Regions from separate parts of the Homo sapiens genome. Here region 2 is linked to region 1. The links are contacts of gene promoters, found by promoter capture Hi-C in blood cells and fetal thymus (Javierre and others, 2016). All regions are on one chromosome and are shown on one strand. Each heading gives the region's core, a stretch centred on a gene start or on the middle of the fragment in contact. The rest is flanking DNA. Distances are from core to core; before and after follow the strand shown.

Evidence for each region. Contacts are between HindIII fragments. The CHiCAGO score rates a contact against its expected background, and 5 or more counts as called.
Region 2: a fragment that was not itself captured here is called in contact with the fragment with the promoter of TMEM266 in region 1 in 2 of 17 cell types (M0 macrophages and M1 macrophages); the score reaches 7.2 in M0 macrophages.

What each region holds. Positions count from the first base shown.
Region 1 is chr15:76,057,934-76,061,578 of GRCh38, reverse strand. It overlaps TMEM266 (transmembrane protein 266), which reads right to left and starts at 1,594. Exons shown (of 11, transcript NM_152335.5): 1 at 1,563-1,594. It also overlaps a transcript of NRG4 not described here. RefSeq lists a silencer at 2,552-2,601. The HindIII fragment of the contact is 3,394 bases long and covers 53-3,446 here.
Region 2 is chr15:76,151,485-76,155,129 of GRCh38, reverse strand. The region is part of intron 3 of TMEM266 (transmembrane protein 266); the gene reads right to left. Among named protein-coding and RNA genes, the nearest start is that of TMEM266, 93 kb to the right of the region's middle. RefSeq lists an enhancer at 2,835-3,465. The HindIII fragment of the contact is 6,508 bases long and covers 1-3,645 here.

The DNA of each region.
Region 1 (3,645 bases), core at 345-2,844:
GAATCTATGAAATGGAAAATTAGACCCAAGCCAACATGCTCATGCATAAGCTTGATTTTAATGAAAAGGTACACGGAGCAGCCGCACCTGGAGGAAAAGCCCCCTCAGGGCTCCCCACCTCCAGTATCCCCATGTGCTTGAGTTTGCATCCTTACCCTGTCCCTGACTGTGTGACCTTGGGCAAGTTAGTTAACCTTTCTAAGTCCTGGCTTGTTCATCTTCAACATGGACATAGCAGGTTTGCTGTGAGGACTAAATGAGCTCATACACAAATAGTTTTAGCTCAGTACCTGGTACATATGAACATTTAAGAAACATGTCCTTCTCGTGATTAGATGTGACACTCTGACCATTTTAGAAGCAATTACGGTTCAGCTATCATATCCCAACATCTTGTGATAACCATTTTCATTTTTTGCTTCTAGCTCTTACTATTCTTTTCATCACAATATTTTAGGGTGGAGGTATTTGGGGGAGGAGGTAAGCAGTTATATACATCCCATTTTCCCACTGTTGTTCAAAGCAAGGTGAAAAGCCAGGGAAATAAACACATGCACTGAAGAGAAATTCAGTCTTTAGGATATGATGTGATAGGTGTATGGAATATAAACAAATCATATAATTTCAACCTCTCACATATAGGGCATCAAATCATAGGTAGGTCTTATTTTAAAAGAAAAGCCAAGCAGCATTAAAGAGGATAGAGGGAACCCATATGGGCCTATTGCTAGCTCAGTATTGGTGACTGTGAAACAGGGATGGGTGAGCTAGATTACGGGGGTGTTTCATGGGGTCTGACTTCCAACAGGTGGCTAGCTTTAGTCATGTTCAGATGCAAAACCGTAATGAGTTTGAGTATGCAAGTCCCAGGGATTCTGTTGAAGGCCATCTTTTCTCGGCCATCAAGGGAGACAATTTTCTAGGTTTAAGCCTCCCTGGCAAGTTAGCAAGCAGGGAACTGCCTGCCCTAGCTTGCACCTGTCCCCTGAAGGGGATTCTGGCCTGACGGTGAAGACCCACCATCCCTTCCAGACAGCCCATTCTGCCGCTGGGGCACCTCCCGACAAACGGGGGAAGCCCACTAGGAAGTGGTCACGACCAACCAAGCCACAAATCCTCAGGGTGTGGGATTTCCACCTCTATACCACGTCTGAAAACCGAAAATAGGCGCCCGCTTGCCATACTGCAATGGGATTCCCCCCAGCAGCAACCCCCCCCTCCAGCTTGCATGTTTTATTAATAAATGCAAGATGGCACACGGAGGCAAAGAATGGGAGGTAAGGCATCTGCAGCTGGACCCGAACCAGGGCAGTTTGCAAAAATAAATAAGAAGCATGTGACAAGAAGCAGGTCTCCAGGCTGGAGCTGAAGCCCTGGGCTGCCCCACGCACCCTCGCCTGGCTCCCCCGGCCAGGGGGATGAAGGTCAGCGGCAAGATCCCAGCCCTTCCGAGCACGCATCCTGCAAACCTTGACCGGTCCCCCCACCCCCCGCCCCGACCACAAGACTCGGGCAGTGAGGCAGGGGAAGCTCTGGCCGCGGCCGGCTGCGAGGACACATACCTGCTGCCCGGGCTCGGGATTCGCTCGGCTCTGCAGCGGCGCCGGCCGCGGCTCGCGCTCCCGGGGCTCCCCTCTCCGCCCCCCCGCCCCCTCGCGGCCCCGCCGCTCCCTCCGCCCCTCCGCCCACCGCGCTCGGGGGCGCGCGCGAGGCCTCGCGCCGGCGGCTTGGCCGAGCCCGCGCCTGCGCCCTCGCCTCCCGCCGGCCGCGCGCGCGCGCCCCCGAGGCTGCGGAACGGCGGCGCGGCTGTCTAGGAAACCGCGGCGTCGGCTGGCAGGGGCTGGCGGCCTGAGCTGGGCAGGGGGCGGAGGCGGGGGCTCGGCTGTCTCCGGGGCTGCCACGCAGAGCGGGCTTCGTGGCGTGGGTGAGGGGGTCGCGGGGCAGGGTCGGGGCCTGAGTGCGAGCGTGTGGAGAGGCGAGGGGGCCGCGAAGGGTGGGTTTGACGGGGACGCAGGCGGGGCGCAGAAGCAACAAGTGCGGAGGCCGAGGGCGTCGCTCGGGGAAGCGGAGGACCCCCGCGGGATTTCGTACAGCTGAGAATGGGAACCTCCCGTCGCTTTGGCGCAGCGCTTTGCAGTTTCCAGAGCTCTTTCCCAGTTGCTCCGTTTCATCCGCGCGGGGCGCCCGGTGAGGGAGCGGATGGCACGCAGTGCCCGCTGCGCTTGGAGGCCACCGAGGGGAAAACACCTCTTTCTGTGTGGCCGGAGTCATAGCACGGTCAGAGTGCCTTGACTCTCAGTTGGCTGCCTGGGAGAAAAATACCTGTCAGTACATTCATTTGATGGCCTCAGCTCAGGACCCTTGTAGGACCGTGTTTCTCCTCTTTTTCCGTTTTTCGTTATCTGACTCTTAAAAAGGCTTTTTACACGTCCCCATCTCCTTTCCCCGTGAAATCCCAGTACCGCAGATACACTGTCGACCTGCTTATGTGCTGTATGTGTTATCCGTGCTTGATGCATAAAAAGTAACATTGCGCCCCTTGGAGGCAGCATCGCCCCGGTGGAGAAGCCTGTCCTAGGGCCATGATTGCCAGTTACCGGGTGGGTTAAACGGAACCACTGAGCAATCTGGATGCACCCACAGATATTCTCTGTGGTTAAAAAAAAAGTCCTCACCCATAATGGGTACTACTCTAATTAATGTTTGCAAGGGCTGCTGTGAATACGGCCATTTAAGCAGCTTCTGGATTCATAGTAGCTTATTATCGTTTGTCTTCTCCACCAATTCTTGCTAAAAATATAGCCATTTTCCTATAGGGTGTTGCGATTTTTATCTTAAAATATTTGAAAAGATGGGAAACCCTTGTTTCTAGGACACGGAGTTTCAGAATGGCTTTTGGCTCTGCAGATAGGTTTGATTTCTGATTCTTGTACCTCTTCTAAAGTGTTTTTATTTGATTAGGTCCAGTTGGCCTCCCAGGAATGTCCTTTGTCTTTTCTTCCTGCCGTAGCTTTTTTAGTATGGATAAAATGAAAATGGTAGAGTTGAAGGACTTCAAAACCACCTCTTGGAATTGCCCCACGGTCTTGGACTACCTTCCCTGGATTATACGGGAATATCTATACAGGGAGTATCTACTTTTGGCAAACTGAGAAAAAAATGTAAAATTTCTTCAGATCCTCCTTCGCCTTTCAGCATTTCCTACTCATCTCTAATCTCTAATGGTGGAATTTCAGAGGAAGAAACACTTGGAGATGATACTTGTGGAAGCTACCTGGGTTGCCAAAGGATTTTTCTACATTTCTAGACGGAAGAAATGTGGACTAGAATAGAGAAAGTGGAGATGGGTTAAGAAAAATTAATGGAGGATGCACGGGAGGGGAGCTATAGTTTTCTGACAGTCAGTGACAGCATTTTAACTAGGTACACTTTCTTTAGAAAAAGCTTTGGCATAGCTTGCCCAGATTGTTATCCACTCCATTTTCCACCTTAGTAGAACTCTACTTAAGATTTGATTGAAACTATTGAGAAGCATCCAGTTATAACGCTAATTAACTCTCAGAGTACGACAAGTATTTTGAAACTTGCTGAGAGAAATTTGAAGACCACTTCAAATTTCTACCAGGAATCTTTGTATCCTAATAA
Region 2 (3,645 bases), core at 388-2,887, 94 kb before region 1:
TCCGCCTCTGCCTCCCCATGTATAAACAGGGATAATGCTCCTGAACTCACAGGTCACTAAAGTTAAATGAGGGAACTAATCTGCCCTGTAAAGACAATGCAGCTGAAATGGATTGGTGATGATGACGACGATGATGATAAAATATCTGATGGTCCGAACATGGGGTTGGGAAGGGGGCTGTGCCCTGAGGCGCCCCCTTCTCTCGGAAGGAATAATGTGAATGCTTCAAGGAGACTTCTTCCTCACAGTCCATCCAGGGAAAGCCTGAAGGAGTCCCCCGCCATTGGAAGGACAGACAAAGCTCACAGCTCTTCAAGAAACCTGGCAGGACACTGGGCTTATTCACATCATTCTGAATATTTTCTAACTCCTCTGGGAATGATAGGCCCCCGTCCTCAACTCTGTGGGGAATGCAAAGACTGGTGTCCAGTCCCCAAACTCAGGGAGCTGCTCCCAGAAAGACAGGTAGGAGGACATCAACAGGCAAAGGAGGAAGAGGAAGAGGCCTTGTTGGATGGGGCTGGGGATGGTCGATGTGAACCCCGCATGGTCCAAGAGTATGGGGCAAGAGATGAGGAAATCAGCCAGGTCAAAAGAGAGGGTTTTCCATTAAGGGACAAGCAGAAAACAGGAGGAGAATGGTCTGTGGGGGCCAGATGGTGAAGGCCATCAATGAACATCCCCATCGCCCACTCCAGGTGGATTTCGAAGTCCATTGCAGAACCACATCTTTCTGCTTTCATGCCGGCACACAGGGGCCAATCACCAAGCAAGGGGCTACAGAGGAAACCCCAGACTGAAACTGGGAGGAGCTCAGGAGGGTTGCCAGATCAAGCGCAGTATGTCCAGTTACATCCCAACTTCACATAAACAATGAGCAATTTTCTAGTATACCCTAAACATTGCATACAACAGACTCATACTAAAAAATGATCTGTTGCTTATCTGAAATCCAAATTTAACTGGGAATCGTGTATTCTTATTTGGTAAAGTTGGCAGCCCTAAACTCAAGAGCCAAGGGGTCCGGAGAGGGCCTGGTGAGGGCGGCTGTGATTTGATCAGAGAATGCATGGGAACCCTGGGATGCAGGCAGAAAGCCAGGATGAGCTGGGGAAAAGCGCATGGGAAGGCCATCTGTCCCGAAGGGGCAGGAGGGAGGGACCTGGCCAGGGAAGCCAGGTGCTCAGATGACAGCTTTGGCCCTGCTGGGCTGGAGGCTCCCAGAAGCCTAAAGCTGCTGCCCGCAGCAGTGCCAGCGGCACAGCGCTTCCATCCATTAACGAGCCTTTGCATTTTAAGATATCTTTGGCTATCATCACTTGGCCACCCTCCTCACCTCCTGATTCTTCCTTCCGGCCTCACCTACTCCCCCTGCTTCTTTTCCCACGATGTGACATTCCTGCCTCCCCTTTTGCCAGCCCCATTTTCATCCTTCACACCTCTCACCCCAAGTTCACACCCAGCCTCCAGCCGCCTCAGCGCCCCCGGAAGCCGGTTCCCCTCCTGCCCTCTGCCTGCTCACTCCTCCCCCACAGCTCTAGCATGGTCTTTTCTAGGGCCCAAGGACACCTGGCTCCAATTCCACATTCTCCCCAATGCCCATTACCGTTGTCTGCGGCCCCTAAAACTGATGGCATGTCATTGTCATTTGAAATCTGAGCCAAGCACCTTCAGGCGGTTATGAATAAAAAGGGCAGCTGCCAGGGCCATCTGCCTGGGCTGGCCAGCAGGAAGCCTCGTCTTCACGTTCCACGGAAGGTGCCGGGCATTTGTTCACCTTCGTGCCTTGGACATCCCTAAGACACTGCTCCTTCTACCCCAGAGGAGGGTCCTGAAGGGAGTAGGGAATGAAACGAAGCATTGTATTCAGGAGCACTAGTTCCATATATTCAGTTCCCTATCAACAGGAGACTCAGACCTTGACCTGCCTCCAAGGGAGGAAAAGCCAATTTATATTGCTGTTTAAAATGTCGTTTTTTTCTTCTTTTTTTTTTTGTTAGAGAAACTTACTAACCATATCAGGTGGTTAGGAAGCTGCAGGAGGTGGGCGTCTGGAGTTACCTGTGGTCTGAAGTCAGCCCATAGTTGGCCTGGCCCTGACACCAGAGCACACTCCTCAGCCTCAGGGAAGAGCCAGGTAGAGGACTGGGCAGATGGCAGGATTCGAATGCCAGGCAGGGGATGACGGCCTTGAAGTCAAATGAACGCCGCCCCCACCATCAGCTAAGGTAGGCAGCGTGATCAAGAGAGGCGAAAATCCCTGCTCTTGGGCAGGTTACACTCTAGTGGGAGAGAGGGTCAGGCAATCAATACAACAGGTGCTGGTGTGATGGGTACTACAAGGAAGACACGCAGAGCTGGTGGAGGGATTAGGACGGGTAAAGGATGAGTTGACATTTTAAATATGGTGGTCAGAGCAGGCCTCAGTGAGAAAGCGACATGTGAGAAAGCTGATGGGGGTGAGGGGACAGCGATCCAGGCATGGTTGAAATGTACACTAAATAGGGACTGTTTCTGGTAAAATTCTATTCAGCCCCGAAGTACCTCCAGTATGAGAAACACCAGGGTGATGGGAGCCAGGAGCTGGACCGGGAGGAGGATAGGGCTTCCCCCTTCAGCAGGGGGTATAGCTCACCACCCACCACCAGCTAGGGCAGATGCTGCTGGTGCAGCCACAGCCCTTGGCACAGCCAACACACAGCACCCAAGAAACCCGAGGCAGCTGCACAATCAGGCCTGTGCCACGCTGCTCTGGGCCTGTCCTTTCATTCTCACGCCAGCTCAGTTGTCCCCTGCCCACACTCTGCCCTCAGCGACCCACCCCTCCACTGTGCCAGTCTGGGAGTGAGTTCGTGCAGGTCTCCTTGTTGGGGGTACCACTTGCATCTTGCTCTGTGCACCCCCTCCTCTTGGTAACCCCAGGGCAAGGCACATGGGGGTGACTCGACGGAAGTGGAAGGACAGAAGACCACTGTCAAGGAAAAGATGGTACCCAGGGGATACAGTGGCTGGTGAGGCCTGGCTGCCTTGGAGCAGGGAGCCATGGAGACTGGGGGTGGGATCTGCCTCCAGGTCAGTGGATCTCAGCCCAGCTGCACACTAGAGCACCCAACAGAGCTCTTAAGAACTCCAATGCCCAGGCTGCACACCAGACCTCCTGAACAACAACCTCTGCGGGAGGACCCAGGCCTCCTCAGATGACTCCAGTGTGCAATCAAGGTGGATGGAAAACCGCTGTTCCAGGTCCTCGATACTCAGTGGAATCTACAGAGCAGCAGCAGCAGCATCACCTGGCGCTTGTTAGGAATGCGGCGTCTCAGCCCTTCCCCGTGCTTGCTGAATTTGAGTCTGCATTTCAATGAGATCCCAGGTGCTTTGGGTGAGAACAAATGCTTCTGGCGGCCTACTAAGAGGTAACAGGTATCTCAGAAAGGTAAAGGGGGTATGGCAAAGGGAGTTTGGGAGTAGGAGAGATGAGACAAAGAAGGCAAGCCAGGGTCAAGCAGCCCTGGAGCATCAAGGAAATAGTGCAGGCAGGCTATGTGTGTGGGGTGGGGCAAGAGTGTTCAGGTAGGTTCTGGGCTCCTTCCTGAAGAGCAGAAACACAGGGCAGGGCTGCACTAGACTGCAAGACCACAGACCCCA